Linked DNA regions of Homo sapiens: all the other regions are linked to region 3. Evidence: promoter capture Hi-C in 16 types of primary human blood cells and fetal thymus (Javierre and others, 2016). All regions are on one chromosome and are shown on one strand. The core of a region is centred on a gene start or on the middle of the fragment in contact, and the rest is flanking DNA. Distances in the headings are between cores, read along the strand shown.

Region 1 (4,407 bases), core at 367-2,866, 310 kb before region 3:
CAGAGTGGGTAAAGATGTTGAGCTATGTCTAGGTGACAGCTAATATCTAGACTATAAATACTACCTCCTAAAATCAAAAAGAAAAGGACAGAAACCAACAGAAAAATGGAACAAAGACTTCAACAGCCACCACACAAAGCGGGGATGTCCAAATGCCACTAAACCTATGAGAAGGTGTTTAACTTATTTTGACATCCAGGAATGAAAATTAAAAGTATGGTGTGATACCACTGCACACTCACCAGTGTGCAATGGTATGGCCAAACTGAAGAAGATCAACAATGATGGCTGCTGGTGAGGTGTGGAACATAGACTCTCCAACTCTGCTGATAGGAGGCAGGGAGCAAGGACATCAGTTAGGAGACATTACAGAAGCCAGGTGGGAAACGAGGAAGCCTGGACCAGCCTGAGGCATGAACACAGAGAAGTGTGGAGGTAAATATACTTAGCCATGATCCCTTGCTTTTGTCTTCTGGTCTCTTTAATATCCCTTTGCTTATCTCCCTACAGTATGTTTAAACTAGGGCTCTGGTGTGTGAGAAGAACATCAAACAAACAGTACAGCGAGCTCAGGGTGTTTTCTAATGCTGGTGCTGGTTGTGAGATGTTGTTAAATATCAGATTGGAGGAAACGTAATTGCGGTTTTGCCATTAAAAGTAATGGCCAAAATTGCAATTACCTTTGCACCAACCTAACCAAAACATTACCAAACAATTTAAACATAACCAAACCATTACCCTACAATTACCCAAACCACTGCCAGACAACTTAAAGAGTCAAATATGGGCATAAACACCAGGGGTCAGGGTTGGGCCTGAACTTTTAGAGTATACTTCTCTTTTTTTAATTGTTTTTTGGTTGTTGTTGTTTTTTTTTTTTTTTGAGGAGTCTCGCTCTGTCACCCAGGCTGGAGTGCAGTGGTACGATCTCAGCTCACTGCAACCTCCGTCTCTTGGGTTCCAGCAGTTCTCCTACCTCAGCCTCCCGAGTAGCTGAGATTACAGACACACATCACTACGCCTGGTTAATTTTTTTGTATTTTTAGTAGAGATGGGGTTTCACTATGTTCATTAGCCAGGCTGGTCTTGAACGCCTGATGTCAGATGATCTACCTGCCTCAGCCTCCCAAAGTGCTGGGATTACAAGCATGAGCCACAGCACCCGGCCTTTAGAGGATACTTCTTGATGCCGAGTGCTTTACCAGAATTATATATACTGGTAGATTGTTTACCAGAGTTACCACATTTAATCATTTCAACAACACCATGAGTAAATGAGAATGAGACTTATTAGAAAGGGAAATTGCCAAAACCTTTTTGATGGAGCAGAACAATCAGCCAGGTTAAGCTAAAAGCCCTGTCACCTGGAGATAAATCGCAGTGCCTGGCCGAGAGTCGTCACCTGGAGATAAATCGCAGTGCCTGGCCGAGAGTCGTGGTCTCCAGGATTTAAGCACAATTGCTAAGTGATTACTGTCATCAGACAGCCCCAAGGCGTTGTAAACAATCTCTGATTGGTTTAAGATAGATCATTCACTTCAGTCCTGACTGATTAGAAATTACAAGATAATTTAATCAGACATTAAAGTGTGCTTTTGACCTGGACAAAGTAAACATAGTGTCATTAGCACAAAAAAATCACATTTATGGAAGAAAATCATTCTCTGAAACGCAGAGCTGGTACTGGTGGTGAGTGTGTGAGCAGCCCTAAAGACGGCATTATTTCCCCAGGACAGCAGTTTCACAAATGATTTTTTAAGTTCCCTGACATAGACAACCATCATCTAAGTACAAAAACCAGTTCTTTTGTTAGTAAAATCAGCTGCTGAACCATTTTATGAAAGGAACTCATGAATGAATCACCAACATGAAAACATAGGGGACACTCTTCTGTTTACGTGGGGTGGGAGACTGGAGGTACTGCCTCTTGTTCTACAGTGATGCCTGAGGCTCATTCACAGAACCTGAGACTCAGAGACACACTGTTTGATATTCACTTGCCAAAGTGTTCCTTGTACTTGTCTGTTAGCATCATTTTTCAACTTCTGAGGACATAAGATGGAGTTTTTGAGTGCAGCAGTGAAACTCCTTGAAAACCATTGCCAATGTCTTATGGAGGAATAGAGTGAGCTGGGCAAGGGGTTAGCTTGGCACATCCATCCATGGTGGTGGGTGGTGAGCTGGAGCCAGCTCATGTGAGCTGACAGCTCATGTGCAACTCTTCCCAACTCCACATTTAGTGAAATCAGCCATCGAGGGAGTATTTACACCAAGAAAATTGGCAAACACTACAGACTGGAGCTGGAACTGGTGCCTCGTTCATTGATTGAAAAAGTTGAAGACTAACACTAAAAGTGACATCCTGTAAGACTGATACCAAAAATCAAAGGTGGGGCTAGAGTCTGAGGAGAGCAGATCTAAGCAGATTTCTAAGCACGAAGGCTTCAGAAAAACAGAAACCAGGTACAGACAGAGCCAAAGGAGTATCTAGAAATGAGGAAATACAAGAATCAGGAATGATGGAGCAGGCAGGTGGGAGAGAACAAAAGAAATTTCAGAGATGGTAGCAGTTGTCTTTGGCATATCTACATAAAACGGCCACAGCAGAAATTCCACTTCAGCCAGGCTCATCTCTGACTGTGATTCCATCCTTTTGGGGGCCCTCTTAGCAGGTCCCCATCTTTGTCTCCATCAGGCTTGTCTTGCTGGAAGAAAATTACTATGCTCCAGTGACAAATCTCAAGTCCTGACAGGCTTTGCTCCGTGTAGCTTTCTCAGCATTTTTCAGGGCAATGGGTTATTAGCCTGGAAAAAAAGTTACTAAAAAAATACGAACAGGCCAGGTGCAGTGGCTCACGCCTCTAATCCCAACACTTTGGGAAGCCAAGGTGGTAGGATCGCTTGAGCCCAGGAGTTCAAGACCAGCCTAGGCAACATAGCAGAACCCCATCTCCACACACACAAAATTTAAAATTAGCTGAGCCTGGTGTTGTGTGCCTGTAGTTCCAGGTACTCGGGAAGCTGAGGTGGGAAAATGGCTTGAGCCCGGGGGGTCAAGGCTGCAGTGAGCCATGATCACACCACTGCACTCCAGCCAGGGTGGCAGAGCAAGACCTTGTCTCAAAAATAAATAAAAAAATAAATAAATAAATAAAATAAAACAGCAGTCTTTTCAAAGTTAAAAATATCAGGAAATATCAATAGAGTTCTTGTGATATTGTAAATTACTTTAAATTGCAATTTTGTCACAACGGAATTACTGTGGTTATGCTATTGATTTCATGTATTATGTAATTATCACTATACTGATACCATGATTAATTAGCTAATCCCACATTTTCTGGGATTTTTTTAAAATTTTAAGCCCAGAATGGGAGCAGAGAAGGTATTATGTATCTTGTAAAAGCTTATGACAAACATTTAAATTATTAACGCATCCATCCTTGACTAAGAGAACATTATATATTAGGGAGGGAATAATGGGTATGGGTATAACTTAGTGTGTTTTTGAGAGAAACATACAAACAGAATTAATACAGCACAAGTCCAGTGATTGATAGAGTAATCAGAAGGGGGATATTATGCAGCCTGCCGGTAATGTGGAACAGTGGAATGGCAAAGCCATAAAGCCATAGCAATGGAGTTGCAACAAGCTTTCAAGCCCAGCTAATACAATCAAGGACATTTGAACAGAAGTGGATATTTTATATATTTACCAAGACACTCACACACACACACACACACACACGTGTACATATATGCAGATGTACACATGTGGATAGCTAGGTAGATAGATAGATAGATGATAGATAGATAGATAGATAGATAGATAGATAGATAGATGCTTTATTGAGCAGTCTCAATTCGGTAGGGTATCTTAATAATGTCTTGGGCATATTCCATAACCTTCTGGTCACTTGTATTTATAAGTAATCCAATCAAGTCTAATTTTATATTCAGCTTACCTCTCTTGTTTCTTGCCCCAGCCTCCTGCGCTATCCACTACAGATTGGAATTGTGGTTTGAGGGTCTTGGAAATTGTCTTGGTTCATTTTCTGTTGCTATAATGGAATACGACAGACTGGGTAATTTATAAATAAAAGAAGTTTATTCAGCTCACAGTTCTGGAAGCTGGGAAGTCCAGTAGCATGGCACTGGCATCTGGTGAGAACATAGTAGAAAGACAGAAGCAGAAGCAAGAGACAAGAGAAAGGAGAACCAGGCCAAAGTCATCCTTTTTATCATGAACCCATTGATAATTAATGCCTTCAATAATAGCATTAATCCATTTATGAGGGCAGAGCCTTCATGACCTAATCACCTCTCAAAGGCCCCACCTCTAATACTGCTAAAATGGCAGTTAAATTTCAACATGAGTTTTCGTAGGGATATTCAAGCCACCGCAGA
Region 2 (4,345 bases), core at 1,722-4,221, 430 kb before region 3:
AGACAAGCTTAGGAGATGGTCACGGGCATCTAAGCAATAGAGATGGACTGCACGAAAACCGTGCCTTTTCCCTCATCTGTAAAATTGAAAATACTGTCCAAAATCCCACAGCAGACTATAGCTTTTGTCCGTGAGTTCAAAGGTTCCAAGTTTAGTCCTGCATAATTGAGAAAAAGACTTAAAAAAAAAAGTTTCCAAACTGCCTCAATTGTTGTCCCTTCCTTTTAGCTCTGAAAAATCAGAAAGATTAGCTGTGTGGAAAATGTCAGAAGAGACTTTCTGTTAAATATGTTAAAGAATTTCAGCAGTAAGTGTCGCCTGAGACGTTTAAGAAATCATAGTAGCTAAGTGTCCCCTTCCTTTTAATGTTCTTCTAGAACCCAGTGAAACTTTGGACTGAGGTGATTCCTCCACACTCCCAGCCCACATCACAGAGTCTTAGTGATCATTTCTCCTTTGCTGTCAGAGCTGAGTATCAAATCCCATTTTTTTGTTTTCAAAATAGAATTGTTCCTTTCTTTTACCATTCCCCTGAATAATTGCTAATAAAGCAATATGCCACTCATCTAGGTCACCTGATTTGCTGGTTTTGATCACAGGGATATCTTGATGCTGTTGGACTTTTCCCCATGGAGCTCTTACTCTGTTAGACAGGTGTCCATTCTGCTGTGGCTCACTTAAAAAGCAAGGCTTTGTCTTTGCCTCGTTGTGATTTCTTTCTTCTATCAATGTTGAGAGCTTGACGGAGGTGCTGGTGGGTTAATTCTCCTCCTTATCCTTTCAATTCCCCCATTCTATCCTAAATCACTACAGATAGGCCTATTCTATACATATATTGCCAGTTCTTCCTTATTTCCTTCCTCTTCCAATAGGAATCTCTTGAGGTAAACCACCTCTGCCAGTCCTCCTATCACAGCCTGCTGCTGAGATGGTGCAGCCTGGTGTGGCTAAGGCGTGTGGCAGCCAGAATTGGAACTGAGTGACAGTTAGAGCTAGAAAGAGCACAAGAGTGGGCAGAGTGATGACAGGGAAGGAACCTGGGAAGGAACGTGCTACCTGTGGCCCCATCTGGAATATGAACTGGCTTTGTCTCCTTTCAAGGGTGGAAGAGGGATAGAAGAGGGTGGAAGAAGGGTGGAAGGAGCGAGAGATTCCTTTATATTGCCAATATAGGTATGAAATGTAGGAGAGAGAGATGACTTTATATTGCTAACGGCCATGCCTGCTTCACTCTTCATCATGGCTCTAAGTTGCTCTCATAAATGCTCTGAGACATCAACACTGAATTTATATCAGATATGGCCGTGTTCATCCGGGGCACTTTGATCACAAAAGGAAAGTGCTGCTGCTGCTGGTTCAACCCCACTGTGTACTGATGATGGGCATTATGGTTCATAATCCCAATGACTGGCACACTTATCAGAGCTGCAGTCCAACATGGGGCCTTCTTCTGGCTTGATGGGTGATCTGGAAAAGCAGGTACGATGACCTCCCACACTGATGTGAGAGCTGCACACTGTCCCTGCACCCGCCCAGGAGCCGCCCCTGCTACTTTGTCAGTAACTTCTGCCACGGTGCCACTTGTTTAGACTTGAGGGACCACTTGATTGGTAAAGCTTCTCCCTGCATGTAGACCTTGGCATTCAGGAGAGCTATACTTGGGCTCCCCAAGACACAGCAGCTCTGTCCACCTTGCTCTCCCCCTCATTGCTGCAGTGTGAAGTTTCTAAGGTGAACAAAACCTCCGTGGCCCCCCACTCTCCAATGGAGAAGGTCTTATTTCTTGGTGTGCCATGGGAGACCCCTTTCACACACTTCCAGCTGCCCCCAACACTGTCTGGCAGACAGCTAAGAGGAGCTCTGCTGAATCTGGAAGCTCAGCATGCTTCTAGTAAAGATACGCTTTTCCACGAGAAGTTCCTTCTGCTTAGATTGGATTTCCCTCAGCTCTTGCCCCTTCCTTCCAGGTCCAGCTTCCATGTCCTCCCATCTGGGAAGGTGGTCCCAGCATCTCTCTCCCTTCTAGGGGGGACCATGCCCACCACCCCATTATTGCCCTCACCATTGTGTCATAGTTGACTGCTTAAATGTCTGCCTCCTGCACCAAACTCTCCGAGGCTATGAGCACTGTTTAAGTCCTCTCTGTATCCATACTCAGCATTTAGCACAAGGCCTGGTACACACTAAAGACTCCATCCACATTTCCTGATTGACTGGGCTAAAGGAAGGAAGAAGAAGCCAGATGCAGTGGCTCACGCCTGTAATTCCAGCTCTTTGGGAGGTCAAGGTGGATCACTTGAGGTCAGGAGTTCAAGACCAGCCTGGCCAACATGGTGAAACCCCTTCTCTACTAAAAATACAAAACAATTAGCCAGGTACGGTGGCACGCACCTGTAATCCCAGCTACTCGGGAGGCTGAAGCAGGAGAATCTCTTGAACCCGGGAGGCAGAGGTTACAGTGAGCTGGGATCGCACCATTTCCTTCCAGCCTAGGCAACAAGAGTGGAAACTCTGTCAAAAAAAAAAAAAAAAGAAGCAGGAGAATAAAACCAAAGACAGGATTTACTTAAAAATAAACCCAAAGATGCTGGGTCAAACCACCCAGGGGATATAAGAATTTAAAAGAGAGCATCTTTACAGCACCTTGATCCTCCATGACAAATGATAACATGCTTTTGAGTATTAATTTCAATGAGGATACAAACTCAGCACTGCATCTGAAACCCTCCTAAGTGTATTTCTTAGAACTGTAATCCCTGTCTGGCCCCATCACCTAATAGCAGGCAAATGAGGACACGACCATGAATGGAGGAGGGAAACACACTGGCTTACAACAGCCTGAGGCTCCTCAGGCTTCTCAACAAGCCTGAGGCTCCCTCCCAAGCCAGGCAGCTCAGGCCATGGATGAGGCAGCTAACTGGCCGCAGGGAGTCTCAAGGTCCACTTGGGGCCCTGCTGCTCCCCTGCTGCGTGGTCAGGGCAGGCAGCTGCCCTTCTCAGGCTTCAGCTTCCCGGTGAATAAGAGGAGGGGCTGGCCCAGAACCCTCCCATGACTGTCACTGTGGGTTCCTGTGTGATTCACAGTATTGTGGGTTGGCTTTTGGAGACTGGACTGTAGCCAAGCAGGTGGTGGTGCCCTGGTTACGGGAAGAGGCACAGTGACCCCACTCAGCACAGCACAAGCCCTGCTGGGCTCAGGATGGAGTGAGGCTGAGGTCATCATGGGGGCTCCTCACAAATGCCCGGTACGGGGCCGCCCCGGGAGGATGATGTGGCTGGCTCACAGCAGCTCCACCTCCCTTTCTCTCCTGTATGGTCCGCAGGGCTCCTGGAGCTGGGCGCCTTGGGCCCCTGGAGCCGCACTGTGGTTCTGGGAGGTGAACACATATCCTTTTCCTCTGCAGGTATCAGTAGGTAAAGAGGAAACTTTTCCACTTTCAATCAGGCTAGTGCCTTCCTGAGGAAGAAACAGTATTTCCTAACATTGAGAAGGGAAAAATGGGTCTCTTTCTCACATCTGTAAGTTCCCATTCATTCTGTCTCTGTGTCTTACACACACACCACACACACCCACACACGTGCACACACACATGCGCGCACACACACACACAGGAATACCAGTTCTCACCTTTCCTTTCTGTGTAAACCAGAGGAGGTGCTAAATATTATGAACAGGAATTTGCCCCAGCTAACCTGACGAGGCCCTCCTGGCTGCCACCTTCCTCCCTCTCCCACACCCACAGCCCCCTGCCCATTCCTCTGCCCATACAAACCACCCAGATTTCAGCAACTTCGCTGCTGAACGCCTCCAAACATAAACCTCCCAAATAACCCAGAGCTGCACCAAGCAGTCCTAGACTTGAGCAAAGCAGTGAATGGTCCAATCATGCCCCTCCTGGAGCCTGGCCTCCAGCTGGTTTCTCTTACGTGTGAGTGAGAATGGTGTGCGAGCGACAAGGAGCAAAGACCACCCCACCCCCCGCCCCCCAACACCTGCCATCAAAGGGCTGCAGAGTCAAAAGTGGGAGGGGATGTTCAACCTTACACTTATTGGTGGATTTTTTTTTATGAGCGATAAGGCATTATGTGTTCCTAAAATAATGTGTCTGACTGGCATTTTAACAAGTTCCTTGTATTTTAAATCATGACTTCCTGTGTGGATATTATCTGGCTTGGCTTGATTTGCTTATTAAAATTTTCTCCCCCTAATGTTCCCTTTCAGCCAGCAATGAGTGGGATTTTATTTCTTTTTCAAAGAAAAGAAGCCCACACAATTTAGTTTATGTAATTCTGTGATATTCTTCCACACAATGGCCAGCACAAAAGAAAGCTTTTTTAGCACATG
Region 3 (3,968 bases), core at 884-3,383:
ACATGATGTCCACACAAAAACTTGTAGGTGAATGTTCACAGCAGCATTACACATAATGGCCAAAAGGTGGAAACAATCCAAACGTCCACTAACTAATGGAAAATAAATCGTGGTAATACCCATAAAAGATTAACCAGCAATAAAAAAAAGTACTGACACATGCTATTAAATACAACACAGATGAACATGAATGTTAAGTAAAAGAAGCCAGTTGAAAAAGACCACATGCTGTATGATTTCACTCACATGAATAATCCAGAATAGTCAAATATACAGTCAGTCAATTCATAGTTGCTTAGGGCTTAGAATGGGGAGTGGGGATGGGGAAGTCAGGTGAGCCTGCTGAATAAGTACAGGGTTTCCTTTTGGAGTGATGAAAATGTTCAATTGTTCCAATATGGCTCTCACAAACTGAATGCAGCATATTAAACATGAACAAAAGAATACAAGAATAACTTATTGGAGTCTGTCTGAAATAGAAAATTAAACCAACTAATGAAGGTGAAGAAGATTACAGCATATTTTATGATGATGGTTGTACAACTTTGTGAATGTACTAATGTACTAATTACTTTTAGGTTTTCTTTCTTTTTTTTTTTTTTTGAGATGGAGTCTAGCTCTCTCGCCCAGGCTGGAGTGCAGTGGCGCAATCTCGGCTCACTGCAAGCTCCACCTCCCGGGTTCACACCATCCTCCTGCCTCAGCCTCCCAAGTAGCTGGGACTACAGGCTCCCGCCACCACGCCCGGCTAATTTTTTGTATTTTTAGTGGAGACGGGGTTTCACCGTGTTAGCCAGGACGGTCTTGATCTCCTGACCTCGTGATCCACCCGCCTCGGCCTCCCAAAGTGCTGGGATTACAGGCGTGAGGCACCGCTACGTTTTAAATGGTGAACTCTACGGTAGGTGAACTATGTGTCAGGAAGCTGTTTTATTTTTTTAAAGGACTGAAGACTTTTGTTTTGTGTTTTGTTTTGTTTTCATTTTATCCCGTTTTTAAAACAGTGCCTAGCAATATTATGAATTCAATCGATTTTGGCTAAATGCTAGAACAAAAATTAAAACTTGAGTAAACCATATAAAACTTTGCCATATCTAAAGTTATTAAATTACCGTAGACTGGCATGGTGGGAGCATAATATGAGTGTACCTGCAGGTGTGTTTTCCATGAAAGTAGCAAAGACTGAAAAACTCAGCAGAATCAAGACCCTGTAGGCCCTTGAAGTTAGGCTAAGAAATGTGTATTATCCTGAAAGCAACGGGAAGGCCAGGAAGATTCTGAGGACAGAAATAACACAATCTGATATGCGTTTTAAACGTGCAGGTGTAAGCGGAGAGTTGCTACTTCTATCCAAACGTGAGCCACCTCAGAAATAAAGCAATAGCCCTCCGGGGAGAATGGGGAGGAATCAGGGGAAGACCGGAGAAACAGGTTATCAAATTATCAGAATCTCCATAGATTTTTTTAAATTACACAGCATCCACCCCCAAACACACATACAGACTGATAGGCACTGATATATACATAAATACATCCAATGTCCCCTACACAGAAAATCACTTTTGCAGTCAGCCCCTGTTGGGAGGGTTTTTCTGTTATTCAAGTGTGGTGGGGACAAAAAGTATTATAACCACTAAACCAGGTAATTCTTTCCTACAATAATTTGGGCAGCGTACTCCTCAGGGTGTTGAAATTTAGCACTACCAACAAAAGTGCCCAGTCCCAACTCTTCGAGAGGACCCTAACTCTTTACAGTGTGCTGTTGGGGATGGTCAGCAAAAACTGCAGGACAAGGTCAAGGTTAGCTCGACACAGCCTCCTAACTCCGAGCGGACGGAGCCACTGAAGGTTACCAGGTGCCAAAGAAGCTGCGCAGGGAGGCCGCGACCCGGCGCCGGCGCGAACCTCCGCGATGTGACCCGTGAGGGAACTCTCCAAGAAGCAGCGCACCCCGCGCGCAAAGGCGGCCCCCCGAATTGCAGGAACAAACGCTTCTTGCTGGGGGGAAGACGGAGACTCTTATACCGCGGGAGACTAACCTGTGAGCAACAGAAGCACCACGCTACAAAGAGCATGACGAGTTCTTCCAGGCTTGGGAAAGCACGGGTAAATGCCCGCGGTCCTGCGCGCCAGCGGGGAGCAGTAGAGACTTCCGGCGTCGGCTGCTCGCAGGGCTAGAGCGTCGAACCGGGACAACCGGAGGCTTCAGCTCACCTCGGATTGTAAATGCTAACACGGGTCCTCCGGCCGGCTGATCCAGAACTTAGGTCGCCGGGACGTGTGGCTTCTGCTTCTCAGACGCTCGGACTCGCGCCGGGAAGGGTTTCGCCTCCCCTGGTCCCCGCTTTTTTTTTTTTTTTCTGCGTCCGGTTATTGCAAATGCATTCAGTCCAGTAGCACTAGCCCAGGAAATATAAGCCACCGGCTCACGTTGCTCCTCACAGGTATGCGGCGCTTCCGCTGGCCTCCAAGGACACGAAGCCCCGGGCCGTCTGGCCCCCCACTCTAGCACTGAAATTCCTGCCGCCCCGTTCAGCTGACAAATTTGGCAGCACTAAATTTTATTTTATTCGACAAATTAAGTACCCAGTTAACACCAGGGAGTAACGGGGTAAGAAAATTTCAGAAGGCTGGTGGATAATAATAGCATTTACCTCATAAATTTGTTATGAGGATGTGAAGCACTTAGAGTAGTGTCTGGCAGTTTGTAGGCGCTCAGTAACTGTTAGCTGTTATTATTTTTATATTGATTATTCCATAGTCACCACTATTATCACCTTAATGTCAAGCTTGAAATCCAGTATCTTTCCTCTGCGAAGCCATCACTCCAAGACTAATTAACTTTAGACTGGGGCATTCTTCTTTAAACTCTTGCTCACACATCCCTATCAGAAAAAATATATATATATTTACATGTGTCATGTATGGCATTAATATATTATGCATGCTATAAAACTCACAAGACATCAAACTTTTGATGAGGTAAAAACAATTTTTAAACTTTTTTAAAAACTTCTAACAGAAGTTCTTTTCTTCCTCCACAACAATTAGGTTGCCAAACATACATTCTATCACTCTGGAATCCACTAGCTAAATGAGCACATTATCAAAGCAACCTACCGCTGAATTCTGACTTCCCAGAATGTTTCTTTTCCAAAGAATTAATAGAAACTAATCAGATTGTGAAGTGCTCGGCCATAAGGACTATTTAAATGGTTCTTAGAGAAAAAGAAGAAATAAAATAGGCATCCACTGAGTAATATTCATTGATGCAACATTGATTATTGACTTATTACATTTTCAAAGAGATTGAGGTTATAATACCTTACACCAAGCTTAATATTTCAAAGAATAAATCAACTAATAAAAAGCTTATGAGGTTTGGTATATGTGCATTTCATACAACGTTCATGAAAATGAACCCGAGATCAATTAGCTCCCGTTCTGTACCAGAAAGAGAAATATGTTTACTTTGTAAGTAATAAAACATTAAATAGGCTTTTCTGACCATTTGCTTGAAAACTCAGAACTTAACATTTCTATCACTGGACTTAAATCTGCTAAAGTTTTCGTCTAAATTTTACATTAAAAACAAAACTCTATAGTGAATAATGTTACCTATCCAATATTCATTTTCCTCTAACTCCTTTGTACCAAAATCCTTATTTTATTCAGATAGCTGCCCTGTTCCCAGAATCAAAATGATACTGATTAAACCAGTCATCACACAGAATTTTTTTGTCGTCTAAATTTTACATTAAAAACAAAACTCTATAGTGAATAATGTTACCTATCCAATATTCATTTTCCTCTAACTCCTTTGTACCAAAATCCTTATTTTATTCAGATAGCTGCCCTGTTCCCAGAATCAAAATGATACTGATTAAACCAGTCTTCACACAGAATTTTTTTGGAAATAGTTGCTAATCAAGGAACGAGTATATGACCCAGGTTGGCGCAATCTGACT

Evidence for each region. Contacts are between HindIII fragments. The CHiCAGO score rates a contact against its expected background, and 5 or more counts as called.
Region 1: a contact is called between a fragment that was not itself captured here and the fragment with the promoter of COA1 in region 3, in 2 of 17 cell types (megakaryocytes and total B cells). The highest score is 6.9, in megakaryocytes.
Region 2: a contact is called between a fragment that was not itself captured here and the fragment with the promoter of COA1 in region 3, in 1 of 17 cell types (activated CD4 T cells). The highest score is 6.7, in activated CD4 T cells.

Annotation. Positions count from the first base shown.
Region 1 is chr7:43,421,501-43,425,907 of GRCh38, forward strand. The region is part of intron 8 of HECW1 (HECT, C2 and WW domain containing E3 ubiquitin protein ligase 1); the gene reads left to right. Among named protein-coding and RNA genes, the nearest start is that of LUARIS, 99 kb to the right of the region's middle. The HindIII fragment of the contact is 3,576 bases long and covers 1-3,404 here.
Region 2 is chr7:43,299,359-43,303,703 of GRCh38, forward strand. The region is part of intron 3 of HECW1 (HECT, C2 and WW domain containing E3 ubiquitin protein ligase 1); the gene reads left to right. LOC102724903 (a long non-coding RNA gene) reads right to left here and starts at 953. Exons shown (of 3, transcript XR_428133.5): 1 at 576-953. The HindIII fragment of the contact is 2,714 bases long and covers 1,615-4,328 here.
Region 3 is chr7:43,727,390-43,731,357 of GRCh38, forward strand. COA1 (cytochrome c oxidase assembly factor 1) reads right to left here and starts at 2,134. Exons shown (of 6, transcript NM_018224.4): 1 at 2,040-2,134. RefSeq lists enhancers at 1,420-2,149, 2,150-2,878, 2,245-2,444. The HindIII fragment of the contact is 9,306 bases long and covers 1-2,787 here.